Regions from separate parts of the Homo sapiens genome. Here regions 1, 2 and 4 are each linked to region 3. The links are contacts of gene promoters, found by promoter capture Hi-C in human tissues and cell types (Jung and others, 2019). All regions are on one chromosome and are shown on one strand. The core of a region is centred on a gene start or on the middle of the fragment in contact, and the rest is flanking DNA. Distances in the headings are between cores, read along the strand shown.

What was found. Contacts are between HindIII fragments. The study calls those that stand out against the background at their distance.
Region 1: a fragment that was not itself captured here is called in contact with the fragment with the promoter of ZNF287 in region 3 in 1 of the 25 tissues and cell types used here (dorsolateral prefrontal cortex).
Region 2: a contact is called between a fragment that was not itself captured here and the fragment with the promoter of ZNF287 in region 3, in 1 of the 25 tissues and cell types used here (mesenchymal stem cells).
Region 4: a fragment that was not itself captured here is called in contact with the fragment with the promoter of ZNF287 in region 3 in 2 of the 25 tissues and cell types used here (lymphoblastoid cells and mesenchymal stem cells).

The regions. Positions count from the first base shown.
Region 1 is chr17:16,530,378-16,535,779 of GRCh38, reverse strand. LOC124903941 (a long non-coding RNA gene) reads left to right here. Exons shown (of 2, transcript XR_007065647.1): 2 at 1-304. Among named protein-coding and RNA genes, the nearest start is that of ZNF287, 36 kb to the left of the region's middle. RefSeq lists an enhancer at 1-168. The HindIII fragment of the contact is 8,307 bases long and covers 1-5,402 here.
Region 2 is chr17:16,623,795-16,628,942 of GRCh38, reverse strand. It overlaps ZNF624 (zinc finger protein 624), which reads left to right. Exons shown (of 6, transcript NM_020787.4): 6 at 4,434-5,148. Among named protein-coding and RNA genes, the nearest start is that of ZNF624, 27 kb to the left of the region's middle. The HindIII fragment of the contact is 4,157 bases long and covers 1-3,487 here.
Region 3 is chr17:16,565,472-16,570,910 of GRCh38, reverse strand. ZNF287 (zinc finger protein 287) reads left to right here and starts at 1,707. Exons shown (of 6, transcript NM_020653.4): 1 at 1,707-1,959; 2 at 2,982-3,582; 3 at 4,289-4,386. The coding sequence starts at 3,180. RefSeq lists enhancers at 1,643-2,142, 2,143-2,644. The HindIII fragment of the contact is 5,740 bases long and covers 1-4,087 here.
Region 4 is chr17:16,507,458-16,512,742 of GRCh38, reverse strand. No RefSeq gene overlaps it. Among named protein-coding and RNA genes, the nearest start is that of LRRC75A, 18 kb to the right of the region's middle. The HindIII fragment of the contact is 7,643 bases long and covers 1-5,285 here.

The DNA.
Region 1 (5,402 bases), core at 1,960-4,459, 37 kb after region 3:
GGCGCCGTGGCCCTGCTCCACACGCGCACGGCTGAAGACCCCTATCTCCGAGAGCGCGCACGCACCCTTCCGGGGTACGAGAAGGCGTGGCGGATGCTGAGGCAGGCCCTACCGGTCTCGGTGGCGGTGTTGTGGTGAAGGCGGCCGGGTTTATTTAAGGCTGACTACGAATTTAAGTGGGAGAGACATGCAGTTTGTAAGATCTTCCCACCCCAAGGGGGAGATCGGCAGCGGAATGTGTCGCGCGCTGCCTTGGGTGCGCACCCACACACTGGCAATAATAAATGCTTGCTTTATTCCTTTATTTAACATCTTTCAAATTAATAATTTGTTCCCTAGGATACTCAAACTGACCAATGAGGTTTTGTTTATTTAGTTGTTTATTTGCTTGCTTCTTAAGTGTTGTTATATAACAAATTCATGTGACGTGTGTTTCAAATCCTTGTAGTTATTATTCCTATTGATACTCAAATTGTTCCGTCTTTGACCTGTGGAAGCCTTTTTAGGTTGATTCCTGAGGCCTTTAACATCACCCTAGTTGTCAATACTTCTTTGTTTTCTGAAATGATAAGGTATACGAGGTTCAACTGGCACACTTCTTTCCCCATACCTAGATTTAATGATTTCTTCAGGAGGCCCTGGTTCCTTTTGGTGGGAGATGGTATTTACAAACCACAATCTAGGTGCAAGGGCTACTCATCAGTGTTGAATAGTGATGTGTCTAGACCTCTCCCAAATAGAGCTACAGTTCAAACCGATACTCCCAATTCAAATTCAAGCAACAGGATTTTTACTTAACCTCATCAGTCTTATATCTGTATCTCTATTCTCCAATGTTGGAAACCCAAATATTATCAGTTATGCCAATATAATTACTCATTTACTTTATCAAACAATACACACATTTTTAAAAATTTCAGAACAATTATAATAGTACCACCACCATTATTATGGAAAAGTTTAAGATTTTTTAAAAATTATTTTTGTCCTTAGAGTATACCCTACTAGAGATGTACAGTCAAGTCAATGAAACTTAAAGTAACTTGGAATAATTTTTCTCTGGGTGTTATAACACCAACTCCACAGTGTAGTAGACCATATGATGGCCCCCAAAGATATCCAGGTCCTAATCCTTAGAACTTGTGAATGTTACTTTATAATGTCAGAATGGATTTTAGGTGTGCATAATTAGGGATCTTGAGATGGGGAGGTTATCCTGTTTTTCCTGGGGAGCTCTGTATGAAATTACAAATGCCTTATAAGAGACAGGCAGAAGAAAATTTAACAGGGGAGAAGATGATAATGTGACCACAGAGGCACATATTGGAGTGATGCAGTCATTAACCAAGAAATGCCAGTAATCAGAAACCGGAAGAGGCAAGGAATGGATTTTACCCTAGAGCCTTTGGAGGGAGCATGGCCCTGACAACATTTTGATTTTGGCCCAGTGAAACTGATTGCAGATTTCTTGCCTCCCAAACTGAGAAAGTGTTCCAAGACACCAAGTTTGTGGTGCTTTGTACAGTGGCCACAAGAAACTAATACACACAAGTTCCTTTGTTTCATTGTACTTTCAAGGTTTATGGATTGTTTTTTCTTTAATATATTTTGGTTTTAAAACTAGGAAAAGTTTTTTATGCTATCAAAGTAGAATCCACAAAACAAAGTACATTAGAGAAACCCAACTTCTATTCCTATGCCCTCTACCCAGTTCACTCCCTCTCCTGTAGCTAATCACTTTTAAATTTTATGGTTTATTCTTCCACTTTTTAGCATAAACAAATGTGTACATATATATTTCTATCCCTTCCATTCTCTCTTAAACTGTAGCATACTATTCACGCATCCATCCATCTTGTTTTTCCCACATAAAAATAAATCCTAAGGATCACAGAGATATTTCTCATTCCTTTTTACAGTTGCATATTACTATATTGTTTGGTTGTTCTACAGTGTATCCAAGCAGTCCTTTAATGACAAACATTTGGAGAATTTCCAAAAGGTGGAAAATAAGGAGAGAGAAAGAAACATAGATAAGGTGGGACAAATAGAAAACAAATAGCAAGAAGGTAGACTTAAACCCAAACACATTTGTAATTATATTAAACATAAATGGATAAATAAGAGAAGATCAAAGACTGTCAGACTGAATTTTTTAAAACTTACTTTGTTTATAAAAGATGCATTGTAAATTTCAGGGCACAAAAAGTAGAAAGTGAAAGCATGGAGAAAAGGTATACCACACAAACCCTAATCGAAAGTTAATGTTGCTATATTAATATCATGCAAAATACATTTTAAGGCAAGAAGCATTACTAGAAATGAAGAATAATATGATACAAGCATTAATCCACTAGATAATCATAACTGCACCTTTAAAATGTACCCAATAACTTAATCTCAAAATATATAAAGCAGAAACTGTCAGAATTGAAAGGAAAAGTAAATCCTGAATCATAATATGATAACATACCTCTGTCAGTAACTGGTAAAATAAACAGATTTAAAAAATCAGTAAAAGTATACACAGTTTAAAGAATGTGATTAGGGCAGGCATGGTGGCTCACATCTGTAATCCCAGCACTTTGGGAGGCCAAGGTGGGAGGGTCCCTTGAGGCCAGGAGTTCATGACCAGCCTGGGTAACACAGCAAGACCCCATATCTACAAAAAAAAAATAGAAAAATAAAAATTAGCTGAGTATGCAGGCCTACACTTGTAGTCCTAGCTACTTGAAAGGCTGAGGCAGGAGAATCCCTTGAGCCAGGAGTTTGAGGCTGCAGTGAGCCATGATCACACCACTGCACTCCAGCCTGGGTCTTGCACAGGGTCTTGCTCTATTGCCGAGGCTAGAGGGCAGTGGCACGATCTCGGCTCACTGCAACCTCCACCTCCTGGGTTTGAGCAATTCTTCTGCCTCAGCCTCCAGAGTAACTGAGACTACAGGTGCCCGCCACCACACACAGCTAATTTTTGTATTTTTATTAGAGATGGGTTTCCATATTGGCCAGGCTGGTCTCAATCTCCTGACCTCATGATCTGCCCGCCTTGGCCTCCCAAAGTACTGGGATTATAGGCGTGAGCCACCTCTCCCAGCCCAGTCATGGGTTCTTAGTTTCTGTTTCTGGTTGGGCCAGTAAAGCCCCTTCCTCATTCTTTTCCGCTTATCACTAGAGACAGAAACTAAAAACCGTGGCTTCAGGCTGCTAAAAGCCTAAAACAAAATAAAACAAAACAGAACAACACAACAACAAAATCAAATGGGTTGGACAAGCTTGCCAGATGTCCTCAGAATGCAGCACTCTTTTTGCTTGTTTGTTTTTTGAGATGGAGTCTTGCTCTGTCGCCCAGGCTGGAGTGCAGTGGCGCAATCTCAGCTCACTGCAACCTCCACCTCCCGGATTCAAGCGATTCTCCTGCCTCAGCCTCCCCAGTAGCTGGGACTACAGGTTCATGCCACCACGCCCAGCTAATTTTTTGTATTTTTAGTAGAGACAGGGTTTCACCATGTTTCAATCTCCTGACCTCATGATCCGCCCACCTCGGCCTCCCAAAGCGTTGTGATTACAGGCGTGAGCCACTGCGCCCGGCCGGAATGCAGCGCTCTTTACTTGGAGATAATGCCAATGAACAGGCTTAGGTTGAAGGATTATAATGGTCATGTAAAATCGATAATGCCTATAGCCCCTACCTTTAGTGAGTACGTAGGCACGTCCCAAGTTTAGTCATAGCTCCTTGTAGTTTCTTTTTATTTTTGAGACAGAGTCTTGCTCTGTTGCCCAGGCTGGAGTGCAGTGGCATGATCTCGGCTCACTGCAACTTCCATCTCCCAGGTTCAAGCGATTCAACTGCCTCAGCCTCCGGAGTAGCTGGGACTACAGGCTCACGCCACCACACCCGGCTATATTGTTGTATTTTTAGTAGAAATGGAGTTTCACCATGTTGCCCAGCCTGGTCTCGAACTCCTGACCTCAGGTGATCCGCCTTGGTCTCCCAAAGTGCTGGGATTACAGGTGTGAGCCACTGCGCCTGGCTTCCTTGAAGTTTCTTACAAGTAGAAGCACTAACAAAGGACGATGCATTCCTCCTCCTGCTTTCTGAGGATGCCCTACTCTGTAACAGGGTAGTTTCCAATAAACTTGCTTCTTTCACCGTGCTCTGTGATTCACTCTGAATTCTTTCCTACGTGAAATCCAAGAACCTGCTCTTGGGGTCTGGATCGGGACCCTCTTTTCTGGCAACAGGAACATGTGCACTCAGGACAGAGCTCTCCCAGGGGTAAAAGGATTTGAATATTATGAGTTCTCGAGCAAGTAGCTGACGTACTGGTGGTGGTGAGAGGAGATGTCTGGGGTGAATGTTCCAGAGGTAGAGGTGCTGGTGCTGGTGAGGCATGGGGATGCCAGTGTGTGTGTGTGTGTGTGTGTGTGTGTGTGGGGGTGGGTGGGGGGCGGGGGGTGGAGATAAGAGGTTCAAAGAACAGCAGGGCAAGTGGAACTATCATCCTGTGGACATTGACTTCATGGAGCATGAAGCTAAGGCTTGGGGTTTGTGAACAAAAGTCTCTAGAAGATAAGTGGGAAGCAGAGTGACCGGTGGGTTTGTGAGCAACAATAACAAGGTGCGCATGAAGCTGCGTCTTGGGTGCCATGAGGTTTAAAGGAAAATAAGCCAATCATTTTCATGTTGAACTTGGCTTAAACTTTCTCATCATTTTCTGTGCTCCGGGGATTCCTCTTATGTACATCATAGAAATGGCAGCTCGAAGGAGTAATAAAATATTTATGATGTACAATGAATGTAGATATTTGCAGCTTTTCATGTTTCAGATATTTAAACTTGTAAGAAAATTAAGGGAATGTTTAAAATGAAATTTTCAGCTGGGCGCGGTGGCTCACGCCTGTAATCCCAGCACCTTGGGAGGCCAAGGCTGGTGGATCATGAGGTCAAGAGATCAAGACCATCCTGGTTAACACAGTGAAATCCTGAAATCCCGTCTCTACTAAAAATACAAAAAATTAGCCAAGCGTGGTGGTGGGTGCCTGTAGTCCCAGCTACTTGGGAGGCTGAGGCAGGAGAATGGCGTGAACCTGGGAGGCGGAGCTTGCAGTGAGCCGAGATCGTGCCACTCCACTCCAGCCTGGGCGACAGGGCGAGATTCCATCTCAAAAAAATTAAAAAATGCAATTTTTGTATTTTTCAATGGCTTCATGCTGGAGAATTGAAATAAAATTGAGTAGTTCACTGTTTATCCAATCACACTTCATCTAAGAGAAAAGCACATCTGTAAGTCTGTAAAAATCTTTTTACCAAGTATAAGGCATTCTGAGAAAATCTCTTGTTATGGCTAGAAAAAGTAAAAGCAAATAAAAATCAGCAATGTTCAAAAAGAGCAGCTTTGTTG
Region 2 (5,148 bases), core at 160-2,659, 58 kb before region 3:
ACAGGTGTGAGCCACTGTGCCCTTCCCTGTCTCTCTTTTTTTGGCTGCTTTTAAGAGTTTAGTTTTCAACGGTTTTACTACTGTGTACTTTAATATAGTTTTCTTCATATTTCTCATGCTGAAGATTCATTTGGCTTCTAAGACTTGTGACTTGATTTTTTTTTTTTATCTCTTGTGGAAAATTCTAAGACATTATTTCTTTGACTTAGCTTCTGTCCATTCTCTCTCACTTCTCTTTGTAACCTTCTAGGACTCTGGTTACATCTGTGATAGACCTTTTCACCCTATCCTGGATGTCTCTTCTGCTTTTCTAACGTTTGCAAGTTTTTCATCATTTTGTGTTTCAGTATGGATACTTTGTACTGACCTATCTTCCATTTCCCTAACTCTCTCATGTGCTGTCTCTATTGTGCTCTTAGCCCATAGTTTGAGTTAAGTTACTATATTTATTTTTCAGTTCTAGAATTTTCATTTGGTTATTTTATACTTTACAAATCTTTGTGAGATTGTTAATCTTATGTTCTTGAATATAGTTATCCTAGTTATTTTAAAGTTTATGTCTGAGGCCTCAATTATTTGGATTCATTTTAGATCTGTTTCTGTATATTTGTTTTCTCTCTTGATTTTTTTCCCATGTGACTTTTGATTTTTGTCTCCCTTTTTTTTGGGGTCGGGGGAGGCAGACAGAGTCTCGCTCTTTTACCCAGGCTGGAGTGCAGTGGCGCAATCTCAGTTCACTGCAACCTCCACCTCCCAAGTTCAAGTGATTCTCCTGCTTCAGCCTCCTGAGTAGCTGGGACTACAGGCATGCACCACCATGCCTGGCCAATTTTTTTGTATTTTTTAGTAGAGATGGGGTTTTGCCATGTTGCCCAGTCTGGTCTCGAACTCCTGGCCTCAGGTGATCTGCCCTTGTTGGCCTTTCAAAGTGCTGGGATTACAAGATGTGAGCCACTATGCCCAGCGTGGTCTCCTTTTATGCCTGTTATTTTTTACTGGGTATCAGGCATTGACTATGAAAATCTATAGTAATATTAGGAGGTTCTAGATTATGTAATCTTTCCCACAGAGGATTAATGTTTGCTTTTGCCAGACTGCTAGGCTAGGGACTATAACAATCTTCATTCACTTTAATTCAATGAGAAATTTAAATGAGGTGGGTTTTAGTCCTTCAGCCAGCCGATCTATTTCTTAGTCGTTCTATTTGTAGGGCTTATCACCTTAAGGTTCCAGCCAAACCCTAGTTGTTCCAGAATTGTCCTCCTTAATGGACCTAAATCCGTCTCTGTCTTTCTTGCCCTATGACTTTATTAAGAGTTCTGCTTACTTATTCAGCCTCTCAGTCATTTCTTAGAGAATTAACAGGCATTTGAAGGGGAAAATGGCACCAAATACCAGGATTGTTTTTCTGGGTTTCATTCTTCTCCTTGTAATTTGTTAAGTCTTTCTAGCTTTCAGATGCTTTCAAACAGACTGTTCTTTTGTCCAACATTTCAAATTGTTCTCAGCAATAAAGTTGGTCCAAATGACTTCCTCTGACATCCCCAAAGTGCAGACCTCTCAAATATAAAAGTTTTTATTCTGTTTTTTATGCTTGTTGTCTGGGAGTAACATTTTACTTTCACTCAAGAAAGATGAGAATTTAGTGCATATAAATTAAGTTTCTACAAATAAATTTATTGAAGAAAATTTCTAATTACTAATATAACAACAACCTTTATGTACTCTAAGCTTTTATAATTTTAGTGCATTTTGCAGCAAATTTTTCTGCTTTCCAACTTCATATTCTTTTGACCTTTTAAATTTAATATTAGTTTCTGAATTCCAAATTGGTGCTATAGATATGTTTTATATAGCTTTTCTTCTTCTTTTTTATTTATTTATTTATTTGAGATGGAGTCTCTCTTGTCTCCCAGGCTGAGTGCAGTGGCGTGATCTCGGCTCACTGCAACCTCCGCCTCCTGGGTTCAAGCAATTCTTCTGCCTCAGCCTCCCGAGTAGCTGGGATTATAAGCGTGTGCCACCACACCCAGCTAATTTTTGTGTTTAGTTGAGACGGGGTTTCACCATGTTGGCCAGGCTGGTCTAGAACTGCTGATGTCAGGTAATCCGCCCACCTTGGCCTCCCAGACTGCTAGGATTACAGGCGTGAGCCACTGTGCCCGGCCTTCATTTATTTATTTATTTATTTGAGACAGGGTTTCACTTTGTCACCCAGGCTGTAGTGCAGTGATGCAATCATAGCTCACTGCAGCCTCAACTTCCTGGGCTCAGGGGATCCTCCAGCTTCAGCCTTCCAAGTATTTAGTACTACAAGTGTGTGCCACTATGCCCAGCTCATTTTTAATTTTTTATAGAGATGGGGTCTCACTGTGTTGCCCAAGCTGGTCTTAAACTCCTGGGCTCAAGCAGTCTTCCTGTCTCATCCTCCCAAAGTGCTGGGATTATAGGCATGAGCCACCACACCCAGCCTTATAGCTTTTTTTCTGAGAGCAAACTTTTTTTTTTATCAGATACTGGCAATATAATATCCTATGACAGCAAAAAATATGCTCAAACTAATTAAAACTATTTAAAAGTAAAAGAATGATAAATAGCAACAGCATGACAAAATATTAATTTAAATTTTATAAAAGTAAAATAACATAGACAAATCATACTGCTTAAAAGTGGGTTTTAAAATCATAAAATTGGCTGGGCACAGTGGCTCACGCCTGAAACCCCAGCACTTTGGAAGGCCGAGGAGGGTGGATCACTTGAGGCCAGGAGATGGAGACCAGCCTGGCCAACATAGCAAAATGCTTTCTCTACTAAAAATAAGAAAAATTAGCTGGATGTGGTGGCGCATGCCTGTAATCCCAACTACTTCGGAAGCTGAAGCACAAGAATCACTTGAACCCAGGAGGTGGAGGTTGCAGTGAGCTGAGATTGTGCCACTGTACTCCAGCCTGAGCAACAGAGCGAGACACTGCCTCAAAAATTAAAAAAAAAAAAAAATCATAAAACCATTCTATCATGGACAAGAGTTTTTATTGAACTTATATTTAAATATTGAGGCATAATTACCTGAAAATGAATTACAAGTTTTAAAAGGCATTAAAGTGTCTTAAAAATAAAATATTAAATTGCATACACAAACACATTGTAAGACCAGTATCCCACAGTGTAATTTTTTTAATGAATTTTTGACAAACTGTCAGAAATGTTCTTAGGGCCATAAAAAAGTTGCAAAATCTACCCTTAATTAAACAATAATTACCACTATTTGAAATATCAGTAAGTATAAATATTAACTTTTGACTAGTTTGTTGTTCAGTTCTTTTTGAAAATCAAAGTTTTTTTTCCATAAAAGTTTTATTAAAAGGTATGTACAAAGACTTGAATAAACTACTCTGCCAGTGAATTTGAGAAAGCCCTCACAACAAAGCTAGTCAATCAAAAATGAGAACAAATAGAGGCCAGGCATGGCATGGTGGCTCAGGCCTGTAATCCCAGCACTTTGGGAGGCTGAGGTGGGTGGATCACCTGAGGTCAGAAGTTCAAGACCAGCCTGGCCAACATGGCGAAACCCCGTCTCTACTAAAAATACAAAAATGAGCCGGGCGTGGTGGCACATGACTGTAGTCCCGGCTACTCGGAAGGCTGAGACAAGAGAATTGCTTGAACCCAGGAGGTGGAGGTTGCAGTGAGCCGAGATCATGCCACTGCACTCTAGCCTGGGTGGCACAGCAAGTATCTGTCTCCAAAACAAAACAAAACAAATAGAAAGTGTGATTGGGGACTAAAGTCTGGTTTGTGGAGTAAATAGAAAGCAAGGAAGTATGACAGTTTTTGAGATTGTCAAAAGTTGAAGAATACCATCTAAAATAGTTGGCTCTAAACTATGAATGGGCTTTTTTTTTTTTTTTGAGACAGTCGTGCTCTGTCACCCAGGGTAGAATGCAGTGGCACAATCTTGGCTCACTGCAACCTCCACCTCCTAGAATCAAGCAGTCCTCCCACCTCAGCCTCACAAATAACTGGGACTACAGGTGCACACCACCATGCCTGGCTAATTTTTTTTTTTTTTTTTTTTTTTTTTTTTTTTTTGTAGAGACAGGGTTTTGCTATATTGCCCAGACTGGTCTCGAACTCCTAAGCTCAAGCAATTCTCTCACCTTGGCCTCCCAAAGTGCTGAGATTATAGGCATGAGCCACTGTGCCCAGCTGAATGGACTTTTTTAACGGGAAAGTTTCATTGAATTTGCTACTTTAGTTTTTGCTAAACCAGCCTCCCTTAACCCTACCTTCTTCTCACTAAAAAACAAGTCAGTGTGAAAGCAATTAAAACCATATATTCATTATCCATGTATTTATTGCTTTTATTATTCTGTTTAGTGAGATTGCCCCAGCTTAGGAAAGGAATTACTTGATTTTTCTCTTTTTTGCCCCAGACATGGAGCCCAAACCTGCAACCAAGAAGGCTACACGAACAAAGGCTATTTCTGAAGATTTATCACAGGAGGCCATACTAGAGAAACTTACAGAGAATGGTCTGTGGGATTCCAGAATGGAAGGGTTATGGAAATGGAATGATAGGATATTGAGATTACAAAATAATCAGGAGAATCATTTGAGTCAAAGAATAATTCCACTCAAGAAGACTCCCACTAGTCAAAGAGGCTTTAGATTTGAATCTATTCTTATTCCAGAACCAGGCATTGCCACAGAAGAGCTTCACAGCAGATGCCAAACACAAGAGGAAAATTTCACAGAGAATTTAAATTTGATTACAGATACCCATTTGGGGAAGATAATTTGCAAGGAGATGAAAGGCAGCAAAGCCATAAGGCAGACTTCAGAACTAACTTTGGGGAAAAAATCCAATAATAAGGAAAAACCCTACAAATGTAGTACATGCGAAAAGGCCTTTCATTATAGATCATTGCTCATTCAACATCAAAGAACTCATACTAAAGAAAAACCTTATGAATGTAATGAATGTGGGAAAACATTCAGCCAGCCTTCATATCTCAGTCAGCACAAAAAAATCCACACTGGAGAAAAACCCTATAAATGTAATGAATGTGGAAAGGCCTTCATTGCTTCTTCATCACTTATGGTACATCAGAGAATTCACACTAAAGAGAAACCTTATCAGTGTAATGT
Region 3 (5,439 bases), core at 458-2,957:
TTAGTCCAACTGGGTTTATGGGCTTCAATCTCATCTACAAAATGCCTTTACAGCAACACCTAGATTCGTGTTTACTTAAATAGCAAGAGACTGTAGCCTAGCCAAGTTGACACATCAAAAGACCATCACACTCCCCAAGTTTGTTTTTTTTTTTTTTTGAGATGGAGTCTTGCTCGTGTCGCCCAGGCTGGAGTACATGGAGTGCAGTGGCAAAATCTCAGCTCATTGCAACCTCCGCTTCCCAGGTTCAAGTGATTCTCCTGCCTCAGCCTCTTGAGTAGCTGGGATTACAGGCGTGCGCCACCACACCAGGCTAATTTTTGTTCTTTTAGTAGAGACGGAGTTTCACCATGTTGGCCAGGCTGGTCTCAAACTCCTGACCTCAGGTGATCTACCTGCCTGGGCCTCCCAAAGTGCTGGAATTACAGGCGTGAGCCACCGCGCCCGGTCCAACTTTCTTTTTGTTAAAATTTTCCTGGTGTGGTGATATTAAGAGTCTTTGACAGTCCTCCTCCACCCTCACAGGATTCTGCCTCCATTTGATTCTCTGTAGGCTTGTGATTGCTTTGACCAAGAGTCTGACAGAATTGGTGTTAGGTGACTTCCAAGGCCATGTTATAATTGGCCATGGCGCTTCTCTCTTGTTCACTGGAATGCTCACTCTTGGAGCCCAGAGCCACCATGTAACAAGTCCAGCTGCCCTCAGTCCTTTATGCTGGAGAGACCACATTGAGGCACTCTGGTCAAACACAAGCCGAGTTCATCTTTTAGCCCATCTCCTCCCAAGCAGTAGACATGTGAGTGGAAAAGCCATCTTGGAAGCGGGCCCTCCCAGCCATCAAATCATCCCAACAGAGGCTACAGACATAATGAGGCAAAGGCCCACCCACTCAGTTCCCCTTTCAAATTCCTCACCATGAAATTTATGAGCATAATACGGTGATTGTCCTTCAAAACCACTAAGTTTTGGGGTGGTTTGTTAATAGAACAGTAGATAACGGGAACACCTTGAATATGTTTTTCTATGCTTTTATTTTTCCAGTGTTTTATGTATTTTTGTTTTGTGTCTCTTAGAAATAACAGCTACTCGGGAGGCTGAACCCAGGAAGTTCAAGTGAGAATCACTTGAACACAGGAGAATCACTTGAACCCAGGAGGCGGAGGTTGCAGTGAGCCGAGCTCGCACCATTGCACTCCAGCCTGGGCGACAGAGCGAGACTCCGTCTCAAAAGAAAAAAAAGAAAGAAAGAAAGAACATGGGTTTTTTTCCCCCAATCTGAGAGTCTCAGAATCAAATTCCTGAGGAGGAAGTGAAAACCTTTCACAGTTAGTATGTATGCACAGTAAAGCCCGAAACCGCACATTAAGTCTTTCTGCCTTTAGACCCACATCTTCCCTGCCCATTCTTCCTCTAGGAAATCTGGCGCCCAGTTTTCTCTGCGTAGTTGGCGCGGGGCTTCAACTCCCGGCGCTCCTCCAGCTACTGGCACCTCCCTGGCCTCCAAGACGTCTACCAGACCTGCGTCTGCCCGGGGAAACTTTGAAGTTCCCTTCGGAACCTCGCAGGCTGACAAGCAAGTCAGAGCGATGGGTGGAGGAGGTTGCCATGGAGACAGGTCCAGGGCCAGAGGCGCGGGAGGGGGAGGCGGCAGCTTGGGCTCCGATTGGCTCTGCGGGCGCGCAGCGTTCCTCTGGCGCACATGCGCAGTGACGCCGAGGCGAGGTCGCGGCTAAGCAGAGGCGCCGGGGTTTCTGGGCCGGGCTTCTCAGGACCGGGCTGGAACGTGCAGCTCCTGGCCGGGACACTCTGTGCTTTGCGGGGAAGGGAAGTGGCGGAGCCCGAGGATCCGCTGCCGCTCGGGACTGAGCCCGCCACGCAGGCGCCTGTGCCAGCGTCGCCATTGTTGCCTGTGGCCTTAGGGCCGCTCCGGCTGCCCGTCGGCCGGGTCCCAGCGACAGGTATTGATGTCCGGGCGCAGCGCGCGAGTGTCCGCGCGATCAGTGACAGCCCGAGCCCGTCCACGCGCGGGCTCCCGTGCTCGTGGCTTGCGGGAGGGCAAAGACGGGGTGGAGGCTGCTGTGGGCCCAGTCCCAGCGTTGCGCGTCGCACGGTCCCCGACTCCCCCGCTGCCCTCGACCTCGACCCTGCGGCTGAAGAGGAGTAAGAGGCAGAGGGACTTGGCCGGGAAGGGGAGGCGACAGGAGGCAAGGCAAGGCTGTCGCATCACCTCCGCAGGGCCTTGTAAACAGTTGTCTTTGGTGGCACGACTGTGCCTCAGCAGGGCTCGGAGCTGGAGCCTGGGGAGAGGTGGTGTCGGTTCTCCTCCAGATCAGGCCGGTTCTAAGGTTTCCTTCGAGAATCCTGGTTTCGAATATATCCCTAAAGAACTGTCTCCTATAGAAGCACTTAAAGGACTTGAAGTCACACCAACCTCTTCACTCTTTTCCAGTCCAACCCGCTGGTCTTCCCAACCCTCTGATAGTGAAAGGCTAGAATCGGCTGGCATTAACATGCAACGCAGATAAATGGCTCGCCCTTTCCCCTGACAGTTCCCTTGGGAACCTTGAGCACTGTATTAAGAAGAAATTCTCCTAGTTTCTTCCAAGTAACAGATTCACTTTGTTATTGTTGAGAGTCCGTTCAGTCATTACAGCTTCTGTAACATCAGTGACTAAAATAATGAAACTATTTTCTCTATAAAAATGTTTAATTTTTGTTACAACAGGTTAGAGGTTTAATCTGTTGTTTGGCTTAGATTCGAGTCATTGCCTCTGACACTACCTTTTTAATAGCAGCTCCATCCCCCACCAACCCCAAGCAGATGGCAGTTCCCTTACAAGTCTAAGGATATAGGGGAGGAAGACAAGGTAAAGCTTATGTGTGTTCATCTATGCACACTGCGAGTCTGTTTCTGTGTGTGTATATGTATAGTAGAGTACACCAGGGATTCTTGACCTTGTGGTCCATGCTTGTGTTTCAGGGTCTCTTATCCATCCCTGCAAGTTCTGGGCTCAGAATTTGTCACTAAGGCTGCTAACTCTACCTTGATTCTGTTCTGCCCTCGGCTGCAGCAGCCTTTGATATAGTGTCCTTGTGACTCTAGCATGAGACTTCAAGCAGTTGGCTCACTACTGGAGAAATAAAGGATATTGCCAGATTGACTCTCCTGTCTGTAGCAATGTTAGCCTCAAGCAAGAGGATGAACAGTTCTTCACGTTCTCAAATCCTTCTAAGGTGGAAGTCAGACAAGGCTCAGAGTGGACCCTACAATGTTGAGAAGGAAATCCTTACTTCAAGATTCTTGCGTGACACTGAGACCTGTCGACAGAATTTTAGGAATTTTCCATACCCAGACCTGGCTGGTCCTCGAAAGGCATTGAGTCAACTCCGAGAGCTCTGCCTTAAGTGGCTGAGACCTGAGATTCACTCAAAGGAACAAATTTTGGAGCTGCTGGTGCTGGAGCAATTCCTGACCATCCTGCCTGGTGAGGTTAGGACTTGGGTAAAGTCCCAGTATCCAGAGAGCAGCGAGGAAGCAGTGACTCTGGTGGAGGATTTGACTCAGATTCTAGAAGAGGAAGGTGAGAATCATAGAGCAGAGAGGGGAGGAATCCCTGGGTGGTTAAAGAAGACAACTAGCACATCTGAGCAGCTCCTTTAAAGAAATCAGGGAGAGCACTGAGAGGTCCAGGATGCATTTTTTAAAAAGAAAGAAACTGGGGAGAACAAAGGTTAGTGAGTGAGAACAAGGCTTTAACATGAGCTCCATCCTGCATGGTGTTCTCCTTCCAGATTGCTTGGGAGCAAACACACATTATCTAAACCCCCAAGAAAAACGTCTTGAAATAATGACCAGACGCAACCAAATTACCACTGTGTGAGCCCTCAGAAAGTACCTTCAGAGGTTTGCACCATTCTACTAATAAATCATTTGCTTTGTGAATTGAATTTTACAATAAAATACTTCCAAAAAAGGAAGAAAGGGTCTAGAGAACATTCCCTTATTAAGAGATAACTCACAAAATTAATATCACATAAGGATTTAGTTAAAATGTGAATTTTGTTCATACTCTTTAAGATTTTTAGAGCGAGCTTGTTTTTGAAGTCTGTTTTGATGTCTTAGGACAAGTCATTGGCCCTTTCCTCTGATGCTTTGAAGTAGGAGTGCTGTTTTTGATTTCCTTCTTACTTCTCGATTTAAGAAAGTGTAGGCATCTATTTGGTGAGGGGTTTCCTAGGCTATTCAGAAAGGACTAATCTCCCTCATGACCTCTTTCTCTTCTCTAGCTCCTCAAAACTCTACCCTTTCCCAAGATACCCCAGAGGAAGACCCCAGAGGAAAACATGCTTTCCAGACAGGATGGCTAAATGACTTGGTGACCAAAGTGAGTGTGACTGTCTTTTCTGATTTTAAAATGCCTTCTTAGTGTGTGAGGACATTTTCTGACCTGGCCCTATAACTACTGTGCCCCCAGAAGCTCTATCAAGGACTTAAGCCCCAGTTTCTCTCCTATGTTATCTTGGTCTGTTAAGGTAGGTGAATGTACTATAAAGAAAAGGTGCTTCCATTGCCTTCCCTTGATATGTCTTTCCTTACTTTGACTTTGTCAGCAATATCACATAGAGAATACGAGATTGACCTCCACAGCCAGATGGATTTAGGTTTTGTTTCCCGGCTCTACCATTGGAACTGCAATTTGGGACAAGATACTTAACCTCTCTTAGCCTGAGTTATTCTACTCTCATAAATAGAATTTACCTCTTAGGTTGTGAGTATTAAATATTATGAGACTTGTAGTTAGCCTGGATTACAGTTAAGCAATTAATAGATGATTGTTACTATTATTTTTCCTCATTAACAAGTAGTTAAAGGCCATGCATTCTGTCATATTACTGTTGGTCATGAATTTATATATATTTTTTGAGACAGAGTCGCACTCTGTTGCCCAGGCTGGAGTGCAGTGGTGCGATCTTGGTCCACGGCAGCCTCCACCTCCTGGGTTCAAGTGATTCTCATGCCACAGCCTCTGGAGTAGCTGGGGTTACAGGTGCATGCCACCATGCCTGGCTAATTTTTGTATTTTTAGTAGAGACAGGGTTTCGCCATGTTGCTCATGCTGGTCTTGAACTCCTGACCTCAGGTGATCCACCCGTGTTGGCCTCCCAAAGTGCTGGGATTACATGTGTGAGCCACCGCGCCCGGCCATGAGTCTATATTATTTTAAAGAATAGTAACTCAAGATACCTTAAGAGAAAGATTTACTGTAAAAATATAACTGGTTTTTCTGAAATTGGAAAGCTTTTGGTAACCAAGTTAAAATGATTATTCATTGATAGTGTGAACATTTACCTGGAAAGCCTAACAAAATCAAGGGAAAAAGTGTTAGAAACACTAATAGAAAAATTGGATAAAATGACTACAGAAAATGACATGCAAA
Region 4 (5,285 bases), core at 1,120-3,619, 59 kb after region 3:
TATCTTGCTGAAATTTTTCCAGCTTGAGTTACATGACAGATCTCATGTATCATCATGTTGTAGGATCTATCACATTTTGCACAGTTAGAATTTTCTCCTGTCACGTTTTGGACAGCCACCACTGCCAATGTAGGAGTGGTGGGGGAGGGGTTGTTGGAAAAAAATTCTGTAATTTGCTCCCTGAGGCTACACTTTGATTCCCTGGGTCAAAGTAGCAGGGATGGGAGGCAAAGATGAGCCAGCAGAAGTGGAAGGGGACAGTGACCATATCCCAATGTCACAGAGTACATGCAAGAAACAATGTACAGCCATTTTTTATGCCCATTCCTTATTTCTCCTGATAATACAGCCTGCTCCAGGCACAGCAGGGATGCTCAACCCAAGTCCCTCCCAGAATTTTCAAGTGAGAGACAGGGAGGACGCTTCCTCTTTGGCCCAGCAGCTGTGAGGATATGAGCTTAGAGATCATGATGCTTTTTCCCTGCTGTGTGAAGAGGCTTAACTGCACAAAGAGAGAATGAAGCCAACACACCCAGAGCAGTGGGGATAAGAGGTGGAGAAAATGCGCCCTGCTGGTCCAGCTGTCCCTGCGGCCAGCTGCACCCCATCACTTCCTGTGCTTTGGTTCTCTGAGCCTCTTCCCTTTTCTGCCTAAACTGCTTTCAGGTGAGTTTCTGCAATTTGCAACTGTATTAGGGTTCTCCAGAGGAAAAGAACCAACAGGATGCGTGTGTGTGTGTGTGTGTGTGTGTGTGTGTGTGTGTGTGTGTGTGTAGAGAAAGAGAGAGACAGAGACAGAGAGAGATTTATTGTAAGGAATTGGCCTGTGCAATTATGGAGGCTGAAACTTCCCAAGATCTGCAGTCAGCAAGTTGAAGACCCAGGAGTATACATTCCAGTCTGAAAGCCACAGGCTCAAGACCCAAGAAGAGCAGATGTTTCTGTTTGAGACCAAAGACAGAAAAAGACCAATGTCCTGGTCCCCACAGTCAGGCAGGAAGGGGTTTCCTATTACTCAGCCTTTGTGTTCTACCCAGGCCTTCAACTGATGGGATGCAGCTCACCCACATTAGAGAGAACAATCAGCCTCACTCAGTCTACAGATTCAAATTCTGACCTCGTCCAGAAACACCTTCACAGACACAGCAGAATAATGTTTGACCAGATATCTGGGCATCTAGTGGCCCAGTTGAGCTGACAGATAAAATGGACCATCGGAGTAGCCTAAGTGTCTAATCGTGATGACGTAGCTGAAATCACACAGAGTGGGGATCATATCACAACCTACTCCTGAAGTCAAGGCTGTACTAAACAAAGCAAGGGCCCCTTGATGGCAGGCTTGAACTTGCGCTGCTCCTACCATTTAGCAGAGGGGACCCAAGCTAACCTCAGGGGCAAAGATCCCTGCCATGTTTGCCTCATTCAGAGCTCTCTCTGCTTCCTAAGGCTCCTAGCATCAAAATAGGCTCTTGGGGATTGGCTGTTTACTGGCTAGGGTGAGCTAAGCTGCTGTGACAAGTAGACCTAAAGATGTAAATTGGCTCAAACACAGGAGTTTATTTCTCACTCACATAAGCGACTGCAGCATGTGTTTTCAGCCGATGGGCAGCTCTCTGCCATAGGGCGATGCAGGGATCCAGGCTCCCATCATGGCTCTCCCATACAGCCTAGTTGTCATCTACATCTTGCCAGCAGAAGGGAAAAGGGAATTCTCAGAAGCCTTGGCCAGAGTGGCACACATCACTTTAGGTCTTGTTCCATTGGTGGGAGCTACTGAAATGGCCACACTAAACTGCAAAGAAGGCTGGAAAATGTAATCTGGTCTTGCATCTTGTTATAACTTCCATCACTACAAAAGGGGAACATGATTGGGGTGGGCAGAAAAGTCTGCTTTCTGAGAGAACTAAATGGCTGGCACTGGGGCATTTGGATTCTAGTTCTAGACCAGGATTTCTTAATCTTGACACCATTGGTATTTTAGACTGGAAAATTCTTTTCGCGGAGAGGAGGCCGTCCGGGCATTGTAGGATGTTTAGCAACATCCCTGGCCTCTACCCACCTGATGCCAGTAGCTCCCTCAACCCCAGTCATGACAATGGAAAATGTCTCTAAACATTGCCACATGACCTTTGGACACAAAATCACCCGCCATTGTTCTAGACAACAAGAGGAATGGTCAGAATCTTCTGTCAACCGGAGAGGAAATGTAATGAAGTGGCATGCTCACACTTCCTCTCTGTCACTTGGAAAGTGTGGCTACTAGTTTTTGCTCACAACATTGACAGAATAGCTGAGATGCTGACTTGAAGTTTCAGAGAGAACTGAGTGATAATGACTTCGAGCCCTCAGACTCTTTAGTGAGAGAGTAATGCCATGAGAATAATGCCCAGGGATTCTGCAAATGCTCATCACAGCCAGAACAGCACGAAAGGAAATGCCCTGTTAAGTTTCTTCACTTCACGCCGCACAAAAGTCAGAACAGGCCAGGTGCAGTGGCTTGTACCTGTAATCCCAACACTTAGGGAAGCCAAGACAGGAGGATGGCTTGAGTGCAGGAGTTCGAGACCAGCCTGGGCAACGTGGTGAGACCCTGTCTGTACAAAAATTTTTTTAAATTAGCTGGGTATTCGCCGGGTGTGGTGGCTCACACCTGTAATGCCAGCACTTTGGGAGGCCGAGGCGAGTGGACCACCTCAGGTCAGGAGTTCGAGACCAGCCTGGCCAACATGATGAAACCCCATTTCACTAAAAATACAAAAATTAGCTGGGCATGATGGCACGTGCCTGTAGTCCCAGCTGCTCCGGAGGCTGAGGCAGGAGAATTGCTTGAACCCAGGAGGCGGAGGTTGTAGTGAGCTGAGATCGCACCACTGCACTCCAGCCTGGGTGACAGAGTGAGACTCTGTCTCAAAAAAAAAAAAATTAGCTGGGTATGGTGGCATGTCCCTATAGTCTCAGCTACTCAGGAGGCTGAAGAAGGGGAATCACTTGAGCCCAGGAATTTGAGGCTGCAGTGAGCCATGATTGCGCCACTGCACTCCAGCATGGGTGACAGAGCAAGAACTTGTCTCAAAAAAAAAAAAAAAAAAGGCAAACTCATACTAGCTTTTCTGCAATGAACAGACTTTCTGAGTTATTTGTGTGGATTCTCTGAAACGTCTGTGAGAGACAAGATTTTTTGATACTTGCCTAACACAAGACGATGTTTGTAAACACTTGTAAAGTTCTTGTTATTTCTGAACATTGTGAGCTATAGAGTAGACAGACCCCTAGGAAAGATATTTCTTTGCAGGAAATGGACTGCCCTATTATAACAAGTGAAAATTCTTTGCAGCCTGGCGAAAACCAGAAATAATACCATCCAGCAAAGCTTCAGGATGCTTTACCTCCTGGAAACCCAGCCGTATTGTTCTAACTTCATAGGAAACTGATTTTCTGGCTGTAGCTGATGGGGATTACTTCGTGTTCCATGGGGATCTTTGGGACAAGCTGTAGTCTCAGACAATGAACTGTGGGTTTCTGTGTCACTGCCAGCATAAAATATTAGTCTCCTGATTCACGGAGAATATGCTAGACTCTTGAACATTAAGTAAAGACAGTTACATAAGTATTTTTTATTAGAAAGCTACTTGCGAGAGATAAACTACAAGGTCATAATCAATAAGGCTCAATTTGAAACACTGCTGAGAAAAGAGAATAGAGACTTTTTTTTGCTGCTGGAGTTGCAGACTTATGTCAGACTGAGATTTGTGTGCAAATATCTAAGTATTCATACTCCTCTGGCTGAGTGCAGTGGCTCAGGCCTATAATCCTAACACATTGGGAGGCCAAGGTGGGAGGATCCTTTGGGGCCAGGAGTTCAAGACCAGCCTGGGCAAAATAGCGAGACTCTCTCTCTACTAAAAAATACAAAATTAGCCAAGTGTGTTGGCATACACTGTAGTTCCAGATGCTCAGTAGGCTGAGTTGGGAGGATCCCTTGAATCCAGGAGTTCAAGGCTGCAGTGAGCTATGATCATGCCACTGCACTCCAGCCTGGGCAACAGAGTAAGACCCTATCTCAAAAAAAAGAAAAAAAAGAAAAGGTACTCTTTCTGATTATGAGCAATTTGGGTCAGAACAAGCATTTGATATTTCACAAACCCATGTCCATCATTCTCTCCAAACAGGCCTGAAAACACTAGACTTTTAGGCTTTTTGCCAGTTTCTACATAGTCTGGAAGCAAGAATGAATAAATCGGATAAGTAATCTTGCATTGCCGAGTGATGGTTCTAACTTCAAGGCGATCCTGTCACCCTCCTGCTCAGAATCTGTCCTATAGGCCATTCCCATGGCCTACAGGGAGTGTCCAGCACCTCACCCAGCCAGAGACTGACTCTCTGTAGTCTGGCCTCTGCTTCCTTCTCTACCCTATCCGCTGCTGGCCCAGGCTTCCTCTGTCACCTCGAGCCCCAAAGAACCAAGTGCAGAGCCATGAACACACCACGACATGTCAGGCCCCTGCATTGCTCAAACTTCTCCCTCCCTAACCCCCGAAGCTTGGTGACTACTTGTTCAGGCTTCAGAAATCAGGTCACATGTTACATTTTCCAGAAAGGCTTCCTGACTCGCACTGTAGCCTGCCAGAAGAACCAGCCACTCCCTCCCCTATATTCCTCAAGTCACCTGTAGGCTTTTATTACCCAGAATACTCTAGAGCACTCTGTTGCATACATTGCTCAACTGTGTGCCTTGTCCCTCTGAAACCATGAGCTCTGAGGACAGGGACAGTGTCTTATTCTTCTTGGGAGCCCCAGTGCCTGACACAGGATCTGGAGAATGCTTATTCACTAATAAGAGTTTATTGAGGCCAGGCATGGTAGCTCACACCTGTAATCCCAGCACTTTGGGAGACTGAGGTTGGAGGATTGCTTCAGCCCCAGAGTTTGAGATCACCCCGGGCAACATAGTGAGTCTCTGTCTCTATGAAAAATTTGCTGGGCATGGTGGCACGCCTGTAGTCCTAGCTACTTGAGAGGTTGAGGCAGGAGAATCACTTGAGTCCAGAAGTTTGAGACTACCGTAAGCTATGATCATGCCACTTCACTGCAGCCTGGGCAAAAAAGCAAGACCCCATCTCTTAAAAAATAATAATAAATAAATAATTGTTTTTAAAAAAGAGTTTATTGAACAAAAAAATGAACAATACTGCACATGCAAATGCTGATATGTCACTCTTCATTTTTTTAATTGTGGTAAAAAGTACACATAACATAAAATTTACTATCTCAACCACTTTTGAGTG